Linked DNA regions of Homo sapiens: all the other regions are linked to region 1. Evidence: promoter capture Hi-C in 16 types of primary human blood cells and fetal thymus (Javierre and others, 2016). All regions are on one chromosome and are shown on one strand. Each heading gives the region's core, a stretch centred on a gene start or on the middle of the fragment in contact. The rest is flanking DNA. Distances are from core to core; before and after follow the strand shown.

Evidence for each region. Contacts are between HindIII fragments. The CHiCAGO score rates a contact against its expected background, and 5 or more counts as called.
Region 2: a fragment that was not itself captured here is called in contact with the fragment with the promoter of FLRT3 in region 1 in 3 of 17 cell types (fetal thymus, total B cells and naive B cells); the score reaches 5.8 in fetal thymus.
Region 3: a fragment that was not itself captured here is called in contact with the fragment with the promoter of FLRT3 in region 1 in 1 of 17 cell types (total B cells); the score reaches 5.5 in total B cells.
Region 4: a fragment that was not itself captured here is called in contact with the fragment with the promoter of FLRT3 in region 1 in 1 of 17 cell types (M2 macrophages); the score reaches 5.6 in M2 macrophages.
Region 5: a fragment that was not itself captured here is called in contact with the fragment with the promoter of FLRT3 in region 1 in 2 of 17 cell types (endothelial precursors and naive B cells); the score reaches 8.9 in endothelial precursors.

What each region holds. Positions count from the first base shown.
Region 1 is chr20:14,336,250-14,338,949 of GRCh38, forward strand. FLRT3 (fibronectin leucine rich transmembrane protein 3) reads right to left here and starts at 1,363. Exons shown (of 3, transcript NM_198391.3): 1 at 1,155-1,363. The region is part of intron 3 of MACROD2 (mono-ADP ribosylhydrolase 2); the gene reads left to right. The HindIII fragment of the contact is 777 bases long and covers 615-1,391 here.
Region 2 is chr20:15,647,283-15,649,982 of GRCh38, forward strand. The region is part of intron 8 of MACROD2 (mono-ADP ribosylhydrolase 2); the gene reads left to right. Among named protein-coding and RNA genes, the nearest start is that of MACROD2-AS1, 720 kb to the left of the region's middle. The HindIII fragment of the contact is 1,998 bases long and covers 290-2,287 here.
Region 3 is chr20:15,668,308-15,671,007 of GRCh38, forward strand. All of the region lies in intron 8 of MACROD2 (mono-ADP ribosylhydrolase 2), which reads left to right. Among named protein-coding and RNA genes, the nearest start is that of MACROD2-AS1, 740 kb to the left of the region's middle. The HindIII fragment of the contact is 1,821 bases long and covers 483-2,303 here.
Region 4 is chr20:15,341,495-15,344,194 of GRCh38, forward strand. All of the region lies in intron 6 of MACROD2 (mono-ADP ribosylhydrolase 2), which reads left to right. Among named protein-coding and RNA genes, the nearest start is that of MACROD2-AS1, 410 kb to the left of the region's middle. The HindIII fragment of the contact is 7,820 bases long and covers 1-2,700 here.
Region 5 is chr20:15,929,357-15,932,056 of GRCh38, forward strand. The region is part of intron 10 of MACROD2 (mono-ADP ribosylhydrolase 2); the gene reads left to right. The region is part of intron 1 of LOC613266 (a long non-coding RNA gene); the gene reads right to left. Among named protein-coding and RNA genes, the nearest start is that of KIF16B, 640 kb to the right of the region's middle. The HindIII fragment of the contact is 744 bases long and covers 900-1,643 here.

The DNA.
Region 1 (2,700 bases), core at 113-2,612:
TAGACAGATTTATTAAGAATGTTTAAAATAGCCTTATTATTAAAACCATTAGAGATTTTGGACTAAAAATTGAAAAAAAAATCAATTTTTTTTCTTTTAAATTCTAAATAAAATAATAAAAACAAACCCCCCAGATGTTGAGAAGACATGGATGGGCCTGTTGCACTCTTTACCTATATGCAACCATTTTGTTTCAGACCTAATTCAGTGAACAAAATTTTTTGAGAAGATACATTTAACTACTTTTTCAAGCTTTGTAGTATAAATGCATTTCTTCCAATATAAGATTTTCCTATTATAAGTTGCAAAGAATGGATCCTCTGCAAAACCCACTTGATAAGGGCTCTACTCATTTATTTTTCTTTCCTGCTACCCCAAACTCACTGCATACATCAGGCATAGCTTCCAGGGTGAGCTTTGTTAGTTTTTCTGAGTAGACTTAGCCATTTACTATGCTAGTCACATACTTCACTTGCCTAAGCAATGGATTTTGGTGTTCTATTGAAGAGGGAATATGGTTTGGAAGAGTGTCTCCCCCTCCTCTGAGTTCAATTTACTAGTTGAGATTTGCAAGCCTGAAATGCTTGAAGCAGCTCAGGCACGATAGCAGTGCAAGCTTTAAAATCTAGGTGTAGCTGTTAATCCTTTACAGAGGCACATAAGTCTCCAGGAGTAGCTCGGCTAGCTGTGAGCAAGATGTATGCTTTTCATGTACTGCGTACTCATGGGCTGAGGGATTATTGATTTTCTTTCACAGTTGTAAAAACAGCAATTGGTGATCATCCCACACGTACAGTACACACCAAGTTGCTTTCCTATCTGTGAAGAATCTCCTTGTATTCTTTAATATTTAACATTGAACTTTCCAACTTGCTGTTTTCCATAAGGCTCTTTTCACATAGCAATTACTCAAGACAGAAAATAGCCACTTACTATCTTTTATAAATGAAAGAAGGTTCTAAGAAACTTCTTACATTCAGCCATGATAGTGAAATTTTTCATTGCTGGCTTGCACGCACATATATTGCTTGTTGTGGTGACAGAGCAAACGTTCCTATTTGGATTTCTCATAGTATCAAGTCGTTTCTTTCTAGAGAGTAAAACCAAGCAAACTTTCTGGGACAATCATAAGAAAAAACATGGAAAACACTTACCAGGAAGACGAGAAAAAGCAATCCTATATACACTGCCGCTATAGCTGTAATTCCATTGACAGTGAATTGGAGTAATAGCCCTCCCCCGTCTCCCAAGCTCTGCGTCCAGTCCACACAAAGCCCACGGCAGCTGCAGGCTGAGCTTGTCCTGCTTCAGATCACTCCTACACTGAGGAGTGAGCGAGGGAGAGCATTCCAGTTTACTGCACACAGCCCACCTCCAAGTCTGAAGTTTAAAGCTTCACCTCGCAGTGGCTGAAGAAGGGGGTGATGTCATAGATGGGCAGGACTTAGCCAAGATCTTGTTCAGTGAGGTAACTGGATAATCAGACAGATGAGCTTTGCAAACGCTAGAGGGGGCGAGAGCAGCCAAAATGAAGCATCAGCCTGCCAAAGCTAGGATGCCATTTGGTTTGTAGGCAGCCCTTTGGAATCTCAACATTTTCTAAAGTTTACTACAAGGCAGTGGTAGCATACTTATGTATTTTTTTTAAAAAGCATGTTAGAAAGATATTTTTAAGATCACAATAGAAAAAGACAGGCTTTGTCTTATTTTTAAACCATCTGTATTGAAAAGAAGTTAACCAAAATCAAATTAGTTTTATTATTCACTAGCTAAAATAATGTTATAATTGTGGAAGATGTATGCCAGTAATCCCAACTGTGAATGTTTATTCAACATATGAATAAACAGCAGATTCAAATATATACATCAGGGCTGGGTGTGGTGGCTCACGCCTCTAATTCCGGCACTTTGGGAGGCCGAGGTGGGAGGATCACCTGAGGTCAGGAGTTCGAGACCAGCCTGACCAACATGTAGAAAAAATTAGCTGGGCGCCCGTAATCCCAGCTGTTTGGGAGGCTGAGGCAGGAGAATCACTTGAACCCGGGAGGCAGAGGTTGCAGTGAGCCAAGATTGCACCATTGCACTCCAGCCTGGGCAACAAGAACGAAACTCCATCTCCAATATATGTATATATATACACGTGTCACTGATTCATTTAGTTATGGGAAGGGCAATAGGAATGCCAAAAGATTTTTTTAAATGGTATTAAATGGTCTGTTCTTTTGGAGGCGAAGAAGTTACTGTTCTCTATGTTTTAGAAAATGAAAGTATGTTTTATGTACTTCTGCTACGTGTTTATATTATTTAAAATGGATTATTTATATTTAACGATCCCCCAATAAAATGTTTTTAAAAAATTTAATAGAATATTTTCCTTTCTAAATGTTTTTGCTGATCTGAGCATGGGTTTAGATATAAACATCTTAAGAAAAAAATCTTTCAGGGTGGTTTGCCTGGATTGAAATTATTTTAGTTTAATTTAGGTACATGAATAAACACTGGACAATTGTAAGACGTGGAGATTATAAATTTCTATGCCTAATTAACAGAATTATACTTGTATTTTTAATTATGATTTTTGTAGACTGGTTTCTGCTATTTGGTCAACAATTGCTTTGTGCCCGTAAGTTTTCCATCAAATAAGTGTATTTCACTTGTTCATGTTGGTGGTAAGAACTTAGCTTTTATATTTACCTGGAG
Region 2 (2,700 bases), core at 39-2,538, 1.3 Mb after region 1:
GGAAGAAGAAATGACAGGTGGAAGAAACAGCCTGGGCAAAAGCACAGGGGCAGGAAACAAAGATGGTATGTATGAAGAGTTACAAACAGCTTGGTTCTATTACGGCATAAACATGAGACAAGAGAGGAAGTCATAGAGTTAGCAAAGGGCTGAAGGATCTGCCATGCTAAGGAGTCAGCAATCCCCACATTAGGATGCACAAAATGATCCACTGAGACACAAGAAGAAAATATTAAAGTTTGTCTTTATATTTCTCTTTGATACTGTTTTTTCTTTCCGTTTTTGGTAAAGCTTTAAAATATGTATAGCATACAAATGCAATAACAGAGGAAATATAATTCTTGTGGGAAAAGTATGTGCTAAAATTATTTTACTGATAGGGTCTGGATGAATATAAGTTTGCAGGTCACTACCGTAAGTAATGGAGAGACAATAGATGATTTTTTTTTTTTTTTGAGATGGAGTCTTGCTCTGTCACCCAGGCGAGAGTGCAGTGGTGCAATCTTGGCTCACTGCAACCTCAGCCTCCCAGGTTCAAGTGATTCTCCTGCCTCAGTCTCCCAAGTAGCTGGAACTACAGGCGTGCACCACCGCATCGGCTAATTTTTGTATTTTTAGTAGAGATGGGGTCTCACCATGTTGGCCAGGCTGTTCTCAAACTCCTGACCTCAAGTAATCTGCCCGCCTTGGCCTCCTAACCCAAAGTGCTGGGATTACAGGCATGAGCCACTGTGCCCAGAGGACAACAGACAATTTTAACTGAAGGCTTTCTTGGCGTATGCATGTGTCTATAGATTGTTCTCAAAACACTGTAATGGATGACGGCAGAGGTGTAACACTCAGGGAGGGAAGTGCACTGAGGAGATTGCTGCCACCAGGGAATTTAATGTTGATGAAGATAGAAGCCAAGGCTGTGGAAATAAGAGAAAGTAATAGATTAAAATAATTTTTAGGTGGTTAACTTAATAGGGCTGGTGATAGATTGGCCATGATATTTAAGAAGCATCATCTCACTCTACATGAGCTCCAGCCACAAGCCTTCTTGCTATCACTTGAATAAGTCCAATACAGGACTCCACAGGACCTTGGGCCTCCTTTTTCTGCTCCTGGAATGCTTTCCTTCATCTTTGCCTGGCTGGCCTCCTCATTTATTTCTCATCTCTGTGGCAATGTCCATTCTTATCATTGTGGCCTTCCCTGACCATGTTATACAATTCCTCAATACTTCCTATCAACCTTAGTGAGCTCCATGGCATACACATCTGAGAAATTCTGAAATCACTTCTTTGTTGTATAATAGTGTAACATTAGGGACTTTGTCATTTGTGTTCATTGCTCTTTCTCACGCGACAGTGTTTGACACATAAAATGTGCTCATTAAATAAAGGAGCAAATAGATACATAGATGAACAGGTAGATGGATGGGTGGATGGATGGTGGATGGATGGATGGATGGATGGATGGATGGGTGAAAGAGTGACTCTTATTAAACTTATCCCTTAATGAGACCATTAGAGAGATGGAATGTTTCCACTGAGAGATGAGAAAAAGGATGTCCTAAACAGATTAGAAACTTGTCTAAATTTATCCTATCTGTTAAAACTCTTTACTTAGTCTATAAAGAGGAAACCAAATAAAAATGGCTTATGTAATAGAGGAAATTTATTGACTCAGGTCACTGGATAGTCCAGAAGTAGAACAGCCTCAGAATAGCTTGTTTTAGAAGCTGAAGAATGTATCTGGAACTGGATCTGTTTCTTTCTTTCTTTGCTTTTTTCTTTTCTCCTCCCCTCCCCTTCCCTCCCCTTCCCTCCCCTCCCCTCCCCTTCCCTCCCCTCCCCTCCCTTCCCTTCCCTTCCTCTTTCTTTCTTTTCTTTCTTTCTCTCTTTCTCTTTCTCCTTCTTTTTCCTTTCTTCTTTCTTTCCTTCTTTCTTTCTTTCTTTCTTTCTTTCTTTCTTTCTTTCTTCTTTTTCAGTGTTCAAACATTTTATTAAATCGGATAGCATTGTTATTTCCACATTGTTGCACATACTGACTTGTATTCAATTATAAGAGTATAGCACATGTTTACAAAGGTATGGCTGAGCAGTCAGTTGGTAAGTTTAAAATTTCAAGAGCGCTCCAAGAGCAAACACAGTAAAGACCATGCAAGTTCCAGAGTCGTGAATTATGACAGAGCTCACTCATTTTATTCCTTGCCTGCAGTTGTTCCAAATCTCATAGCCTCAACTCTCACTGTCCAGACACAGAGAAAACATCTGTTTCCAAAATCCCATTGAAAGTCCTAAGCTTTGCCTTACTTGGGGCCACTTCTGAGTGACTCACAGAAGTCATTAGGTTGCTATGTGGCAATTAGTTTAGGCCTGCGATTTCTTAACCAATCTCTGTGTCAAGAAAGATAGTACCACTCTGATTGGCTTAGACAAATTAGGGTCTACTTTTTGAGGAGGGGATCTTTGGGGAGGAAGCCACAATGTCCTTTATAGGCTTGGAAAAAAATCTGGGTGTGTATTATTGCAAAGCCATTTAAGACTGTGTGTTTCTTTATCAAGAATGCTTTCCATAACCCAAAGATGTCACATATACAAAATTTGAGCAGAAGATTTGCTTCTAAAATAGTTTCATATCTTTTGTAATTCTTAATTATGGTATACATAAATAGACTTACTTCTTCCCCATTGGATGCTATGAAACATACCC
Region 3 (2,700 bases), core at 143-2,642, 1.3 Mb after region 1:
AATCAATCCCAGCATTTTGGGAGGCCAAGGCAGGCAGATCACCTGAGGTCGGGGGTTCAAGACCAGCCTGACCAACATGGAGAAACTCCATCTCTACTAAAAATACAAAAATTAGCCAGGCGTGATGGCACATGCCTGTAATCCCAGCTACTTGGGAGGCTGAGACAGGAGAATGGCTTGAACCTGGGAGGCGGAGCTTGCAGTGAGCCGAGGTCATGCCACTGCACTCCAGCCTGGGCGACAGAGTGAGACTCTGTCTGAAAAATAAAATAAAAAATAAAAATCATAGGTGATGCTGCGCATTTCATTCACATCAAGAGGTTCCCATTGTTATTTGTGGTGCCATGTTTGGTCACCTGGTTTTGATGTTTGTCGCAAAATTATCTCGATTATGAAGATACATTTTCTCCCTCGTTTTCAATTAGTAAGTGATCTGTGAGTTGACACTGGCGTCATTGCCTAGCTTGCTTACCCAAACCTGAAGCTTGTATTATCCATTGATGAGCCTTTTCTAAATCACTCCAGTAGGGTTAGCAAAATGGTGATTCTCTAATTCTATCATTCCTTCTACATAGATTAACTAGTAGGCTCCTGTAAATAACTTTCATTTTTTAATATGCTTACAGAAAGAAGGTGTATTTGAGTGGAGCATGACCTAGAAATAGCAAATATCTAGCTACACATAAACGTTAAAAACCCAAGAACAGGAAAGAAATTTAGAGAAACTAGAGCATTTAGAGCTAGAAGGGACCTAAAACAATATATACTCCAACCTTTTAACAAGTGAAAAAAGTGAAGTCCAACTATGTTGTTTATTTTTATCTCATAACTAACTAGCTTGATGTAACAGATCTTTGAATAAAAGGAAACACATTGTACACGGGTGCAATGAGGTCAAAGTACGAATATAATTACCACTGATTTGTTGACAACATTGTTTGCTGCATTATAATTTTATAGGATAATAGGAGATTGCTTATTCCAGCCTCAGTAAGCATTATTGCACACATGAAATGTGCAGGGTATAAGTTTTTATATTTTTCCTTCATTATGTGATTGCCAAGGCTTTATTTCTAATGCTAAGATATTTTCACTGGGTTTAAACTGAGCCGACTTATGTACCCTGGTTCTTTCCTACTCTTGAAACTGTCAGTAATGTCACAGTGTCTCATAGCTGGAAATGTAGTAACCACATCACTCCCCCCAACTCCTGCTCCCTGATTTTTCATTAGGATGCAGTTTATTAATCCAAGTAAAAATATGAAAGCCTCCTATGATTAGGTTTAAGCCTAATATATGATCCTCCTTCCTGGAAGGGCACTTTGAGCTGGTCATTAGGGAATGGAGAGAACGGGTATCATTAGGGAATTTGCCTGGCAAGAGCAAGGCCAAGACTGGAAGGAAAATTGGATTTTATTTGCCAAAGCCGAGGTAATGTCCTAAATAAAAATTTCCCCAACCAGGAAGACCTAAGAAAATTGTCAAGAGGTAGAGTTTAGAACCAGGGGCACAAAGGGCAGGTGGGAGAATAGGCTGGGGGAAGACTGGAGTGCTACCAACAACTAGCTTTATGTTTTCCTTTATAAACACGTATTGAGCACCTACTATGTGACAGGCATGGTGCTGTGTGTTTTGTGTGCATTACCTAATGTAATCCTCACAACAGCCTAGAAGTCAGTACTTTTATTACCCTCATTTTAGAGATGCAAAACTGAGGCAACTTACCTATGGTCACCCTGTTAATAAGTGTTGGGGTGTCCCTGACCCCTGCACTTTTAATCAGTAGGTAATATGTAGTACCTTTCTCTGGCTTGTAAATGTTTTCTTGCAGAGAAAATGGGAAGCAACTATCTAGATTGGAAAGGTTAAAACGAAGGAATCGGAAAGCAACAGTTAAATAGAGTTAAATGGCTACTTTTCCCTCTCAGAGTTTTGGAATACCTATGAGCTTTCAGCCATAAAGCCAAGAAGGTTCTGGCTGGCACGACATTGTCCCCGACTAATGCTAGGATGGTGTTGTCAAACAGAGGCAGAAACAGAGCCCTATCCTGTTTCTGCTCAGTTGCCCATTTCAGTCTCCGTCCTGATGCAACACGAACTTCTACAGACAGACTCAGGGTCTCCAGAAAGCAAAGCCTTTAGGAATTAAAGTCATCTTTGCTTTTAAATACTTGTTTCTCCCATGTTAAGGACACTTTTCTAGGCAAAAACCTCCTGATTGCCTGTTGCTGTGGCATATCTTCACAAATTCATTTTTCATAAATGTCCCAAATACATCTGAGACATTTTTTATAACTTGTGTAAGCTTCCAGAGACAAATGTTAAAGATGACAGTTTGGAAATGAAGACACATAAAACATGCCTTGGGAAATAGAAATCCTAGGGCAGCGACCTCAAATTCAGTCCTCTGTTCCTTTTTAGTCAATATATTGAATATCATATTCATATATATCATATCAACATCATATGTATCGAATATCATTGTATGCTGCAAGTCTAAAGAAAGAGAGACTAGAAGTGAAGAGGTCAAGGTTTCAGCCATCCATGGACCTGTGAAGGCTTGACTTTGAAATAGTCACATGATCACTTTGGCTATTAGTTTTATCACTTCTCTTATCTTGGTCTGAAGATCTGAGCTGTGTTTTATGATAAAGAAAAATGTATAAGCTAGTTTTTGCTGTATAACAAAACAACTTAATC
Region 4 (2,700 bases), core at 142-2,641, 1.0 Mb after region 1:
GGCTTAACTATGGTCAAAGTATTGCCCTGAGGCCACTTTTAAAGCACATTTCTGATTCAAATAATGGTTTTGACATATGTTAAGGAAAATGTTGGCAACAAATCTAGAGATGAATTGAAGACTTATTCACTTTACAAAAATATTTCTTCAACATGCAAAAGCATACACCTCTGGAAGTCTATATTTCAGCTTTCCCTAGTATTGACTAGTAGATTCTTACTGAGAAAAAAAATGAAAGAAGTAAAAGTAGATACATTTAAAATTAAGGCATTAAGACTATGCATGGTGGCTCATGCCTGTAATCCCAGCTATTAAGGAAGCCAAGGAGAGAGAATGGCTTGAGGCCAGGAGTTCAAGACCAGCCTAGACAACATGGCAACAACCTGTCTCTACAAAAATTTTTTAAAAAATTAGCTAGGTGCGGTGGTGTGCACTTGTAATCTTACCTATTTGGGAAGCTGAGGCAGGAGAATAATTTAAGCCTAGGAGTTTGAGGCTGCAGTGAGCTTTGATCACACCACTGTACTTCAGCCTGGGCAACAAAGCGAGACCCTGCCCCTGAAAAAAACCCAGTAATAGGAAAAAAAATACAATTAAGGCATCAAAAGTGATTGATAGTTTAACATGCCTTTAACCTAAAAGTAAAAAATCTATTACATTATAATGTAAATCAATAGAAACATGTCATATAATTTACAAAATGTTGGTGAACATACACCCTTTTGAGACACATGTTTTCTGCAGATCAACGCAAGTTGCACAGGTATAACTACTGACAAATGGCCTCCAGAAGTTAGAGCAGGCATTGTTAATTTAGGGCTATATGGGTTCCAAGAGTCCCAGCCAATGTCAGACTAGGATCGGTCAACTCCTGGAGTTACGACTTGGCTTGTATTTTGACATTTTTTGTGTTCATTAGTTGGAGGATTTGGGTGGCAGTAGGAATGGAATCTCTAGGGTCAGCATCCCTGTAGTAGGAATTTGAGTCTGAAGGAATCCTTGAATGGATATCAGTGGATCTATAAAAACTTTAAAATCACGGACAAAAATGTATGGGATGGGGACAAGCCAATAATATGGTTTAAATATTTCTAATCTTTTATTTTCTGGTCAGGGAAGGTCTTTTATTAGCTTCTGTTAGATTACGACCAAGGATACTCGATTGAATTGCAAATACCAGAGGACTAAATTACTGTAATATAGTAAAAATGTGACTTAAAACATTAAATGGATTAAGGAGAAAGCAAGAAAAGAGTGAAAGTGGGGAGGGGAGTTTTCGGAGGGGTGGAACTTCATTGGTGGTACGGGAATATATGTGACCTTATTATGGAAATATTCTCTATCACACACCCACCTTGAATCTGTGTGAAGAGCAGAGGGCGCTTTGCTTTACTATTATCTTTTTTGCTGTGCGATTTCCACCGTATCACTTAATATCTTCCAGTTGTTTCTTCATTTGTGTTCCTTGTGTTTTGCTACTGACCTCCCTTGGAGGGATGTTGTAAGGCATAAATCATTAATGATTATAAAGTGCTTTGGAAATAGAAAGTATTGCTTCAGTGATAGCCCAGATGCACCTAGGAATTGCAGCATGAACAGTACAAAGCAAAAGGCATGTTGTCAGAATTCCTTTTGGGGCTCCGGATCAGCCAGGCCTTCCGCTCACATCAGGGTGAATTAGGGCCATGAATCTGAAAGTACATCTGATACTGCTTGGCTTGTACGTGCTCTTGTTACAACATTATTTTGACATTTTTTGTGTTCATTTGTTGGAGGACTTTAAACCCTTTTCTAACCAAAGGAAACCAAAGTGCCTACTGCAAGCATTTTTCAAAGATGGTGTCACTCTGATTGAGGATAAAAAATTGATCTACTAAATAAAAATGTTGGAATGGCATGTTTATCTTACTTGTTTGGCCAGATATAAGTAAGGCAGTGATTCAGAAGAAGGCTTCATTAGAATGCACCATTTATCTAATACTTTGACAGTCAGTGATATCTTCTCTCTCCCTCTGCTGTCTCTCTTTATGAAACCAAACACTGACCTGTCTTTAGCCTACAATATCAGATACAAGAAAACAGAGACCAATGGAAGTAAATAATCCATCAAGTTAGTGTTAAAGATAAGACTAGAAACTGGGTGTTTCATCTCCCAGTTCAGTACTTCTATATATCTGAGTATTCTTTGATCATTTCTAAGAAGATACCAAGCAGCTTTAATCAAACATTCATCCTTCCTAAAAGGACCTGAGATTTTTATTCAAAGATTCCAGAATACCAGTTATTCATAAAGCTGCCTGTCCATGCATTTAGAGTGTGATAGAGATCAACTGTAACATCCGTCATGTTACTACACTCCAAGATTGATTTCTGTGGTCTACTTGGTTTGATGGAAAGTCCCTTCTTCCCTTACAGTCTACATATCTCCTTTAAATATGACTTTTATAGATCGAGGTGAATACATGATTAACTACATTTTCCTCCTATTCATTTATCTATGTATAGAAAAATGTGAGAAAGGAGCAGGAATCTAAATAAACTCCTAAATTTTCAGTCGTTGAGGTATGCACAGTTCAAAAGAGATACTTGTAGACTAAATTATCCAGATGATAGTAAAAATTCCCTATTTTACATTCCAGATGCAGATCCAGCCTCAGTGATGAATACCTAAATATAATTCCCAGTCCTTTTATTTCTTAT
Region 5 (2,700 bases), core at 22-2,521, 1.6 Mb after region 1:
ATTAAGTCCCATGGTCAAGTCCAACATCAATGGCATGGAAATATTCTCTGCTCACAGTGGGAGGACACTGATTTTATATATATATATATACACATATACACACAATCTTATTATAGGGGACTGAAGAATTAAGACCAATAATCTAATCTGCAAAGCACTGGTTTTGAATTGTCCGTAGTCTGTCTGTGCCCAGAAATCTATAGACCTTTAGAAGAAAAGACAGCAGTATACCAGCAGGAAGTACACATCAGATTGTTTCCCCAGTATAGCGATGGATTTATTTAGACTTACGTCTTGTTTATCTTCCTGTCACCATGTAGCGTTCACAAAAGGAACTACAAATATCAGGATAGCAATCCGTGATCATGTTGTTGAGATTTTGCCCTTACAAAACTCTCCCATGTAGAGTCAAACATGGACTGCTTTCTTATCATAGTCACGTTGCAGCAGGAGCCTCTTATTTTATTTCTATAAAATTTCTGAAATGTTCTTGCAAACAGTACACATTTGATAAATATTGGTTGAAAGAGTAGGAGGCAGAGTACTAATATGGGAGAAATTAGAAGGACACAACCAGTAGAATTCTCACAGGTTTCTGTGCTTTTTCAGCATGGGAAAGTAAAGTGTTATATCACACTCGACATGAATGCTATGGAAATTTATCATCTGAAATAAATATGTGATCTTAAAGGAATATTAACTGAGAACATTTAGCTTCTATGTGGCATTATTTAAGCTAACAAAATAGCCTCGCACTTCCCTATATTTCTTCACCGTTATTGTAAGGCTTTTAAAATCCCTTCTGGAAACCTCAAGTTTACACATCCCTCTACTTAATTTTTCATTGTTTATGTGCTTCCTGTGACGATAGCTAGACAGACAAGGCTGATAAAAAAGAAAGCTTGTCCTTATCAAAGACTTACGGGTAACTGTGTTAATGTGCCTTGCTTTTTCTACCAGTGGAAGCCCCCTATTTCACTAAGAACTCACCCATTTGCAGCATTTAAAATGGATGGAAAGTTATAAGCCAGCCAAAATGTCCTTCTAAAAGAATGAAATGAATACTAATCTAATTGCCCAAGAATGCATATGCTGGGCTTGGAAAATAAGCCTTCTACATTGGTTCCCCCTGCTGGATTTGAGGATGCACTGTCTTGGAAATTGATGAAAGCAATATACCTGGACCGTTTTATCTGAGGACATGTTACTGGAATGGCAAATCCAGCATTCTTCTAGAAAGCATTTGCTCTGTGATAAATGTGCCAAGTGTTTCTTGAGTTTGCTTCCCCAGGGCAGAAATACTGCAAATAGAAAACAGTGCCGCTGAGACTCAAAGAGAAAACAAAAGCATGCCACTCAGATGTCTGTTCTAGGGAGGGGGGTAGCACACAAGGAACTAAGGGTAAAAACCCAGAAGCAGTAGACTAGGTAAACTGCCAGACTGGTTGTTACTATTAGAAAGCTGGATTTCAGGGTCTGACCATGGATTTCCTTCTTATGCATTTACAACTATTAGAACCAATTCCTCACCTTTCTGTAATTTAACTGCTGTTTTTCTTTCCCTTCTTATCTTCCTCACTTCATAAGTAATCTCCCTACCCCTACTCTGTAGAAGATGTGGTAACCAGAGTACTTTCAAAGGAAGCTTGTCACCTGCAAACTTCATGGCTATTGTGAAATGTGTTAAAAGGTCTGTCTTTTGAGGGAGACAGAGAAGCTGGCAGATTTTTCCTGCTTGACTCAGAGTCCATTTGGTGGGAGGAAAGGGACAGATATTGGCTAAGTTTTTGGCACATGCTCCTGCACCAACTTGGCCTTGTTAAGACAGCAAGAACAGCAGAAGTGACTATTTCCTCCCTAGAGCAAAGGCCAATGCTGTTTCCTTCATGGAGAACCAGAACAGGGAAAATATCAGATAATCATGTAGTACTTGTAAATATGCCATTTAGAACACTGAATTTAAGTGGCATGCAGAGCCACCCCAGGTTCTCATATTATATTCAGGCCAGGTGTGGTGTCTTATGCCTGTAATCCCAGCAGTTTGGGAGGCTAAGGTGGGAGGATTGCTTTAGGCCAGGAGTTCAAAACCAGCCTAGGCAACAAAGCAAGACCCTTTCTCTCCAAAAAAATAAAAAATCAGTCAGGCTTGGTGGCATGTGCCTTGTAGACCCTGCTACTCAGGAGGCTGAGGTGGGAGGATCGCTTGAGTCCAGGAGTTAAAGGCTGCAGTGAGCTATGAACATGCCACTGCACTCCAGGCTGGACAACACAGCAAGGCTCTGTGTCTATTAAAAAAAAAAAAAGTAGTTATATTGTGTCCACCGTCACAAACGGCACAGGGCTAACCCAACACAGGGGGTCCTGTACGTATATTTATTAACTGCATTCTTCGCCAACCTCAGAGTATCATTCTTTTTTCTTTTTTTGTCCTTCTATTATAAACTTTTTTTCCCCATTTAGGTCAAATCTAAATGTTTCCCCATCTGAAACTTTCTTCAGTAGGTCGTTTTCCAGAGCTGCAGGTAAAATGCTTCCCCACTGCTTCTGAGGCTTTTGTTTCAGCTCTGCTACTAGTGGCCTCCTCTTGGGAGGATTCTCTTGCCTCGGAATTAAGAGTTGGTAGGAGGAGGAGATGGCGGGTCAAAGCACTCAAGCAAGACAACGTTAAGTGATTCAGTCCTGCTTGTGGGTCAGGAATTT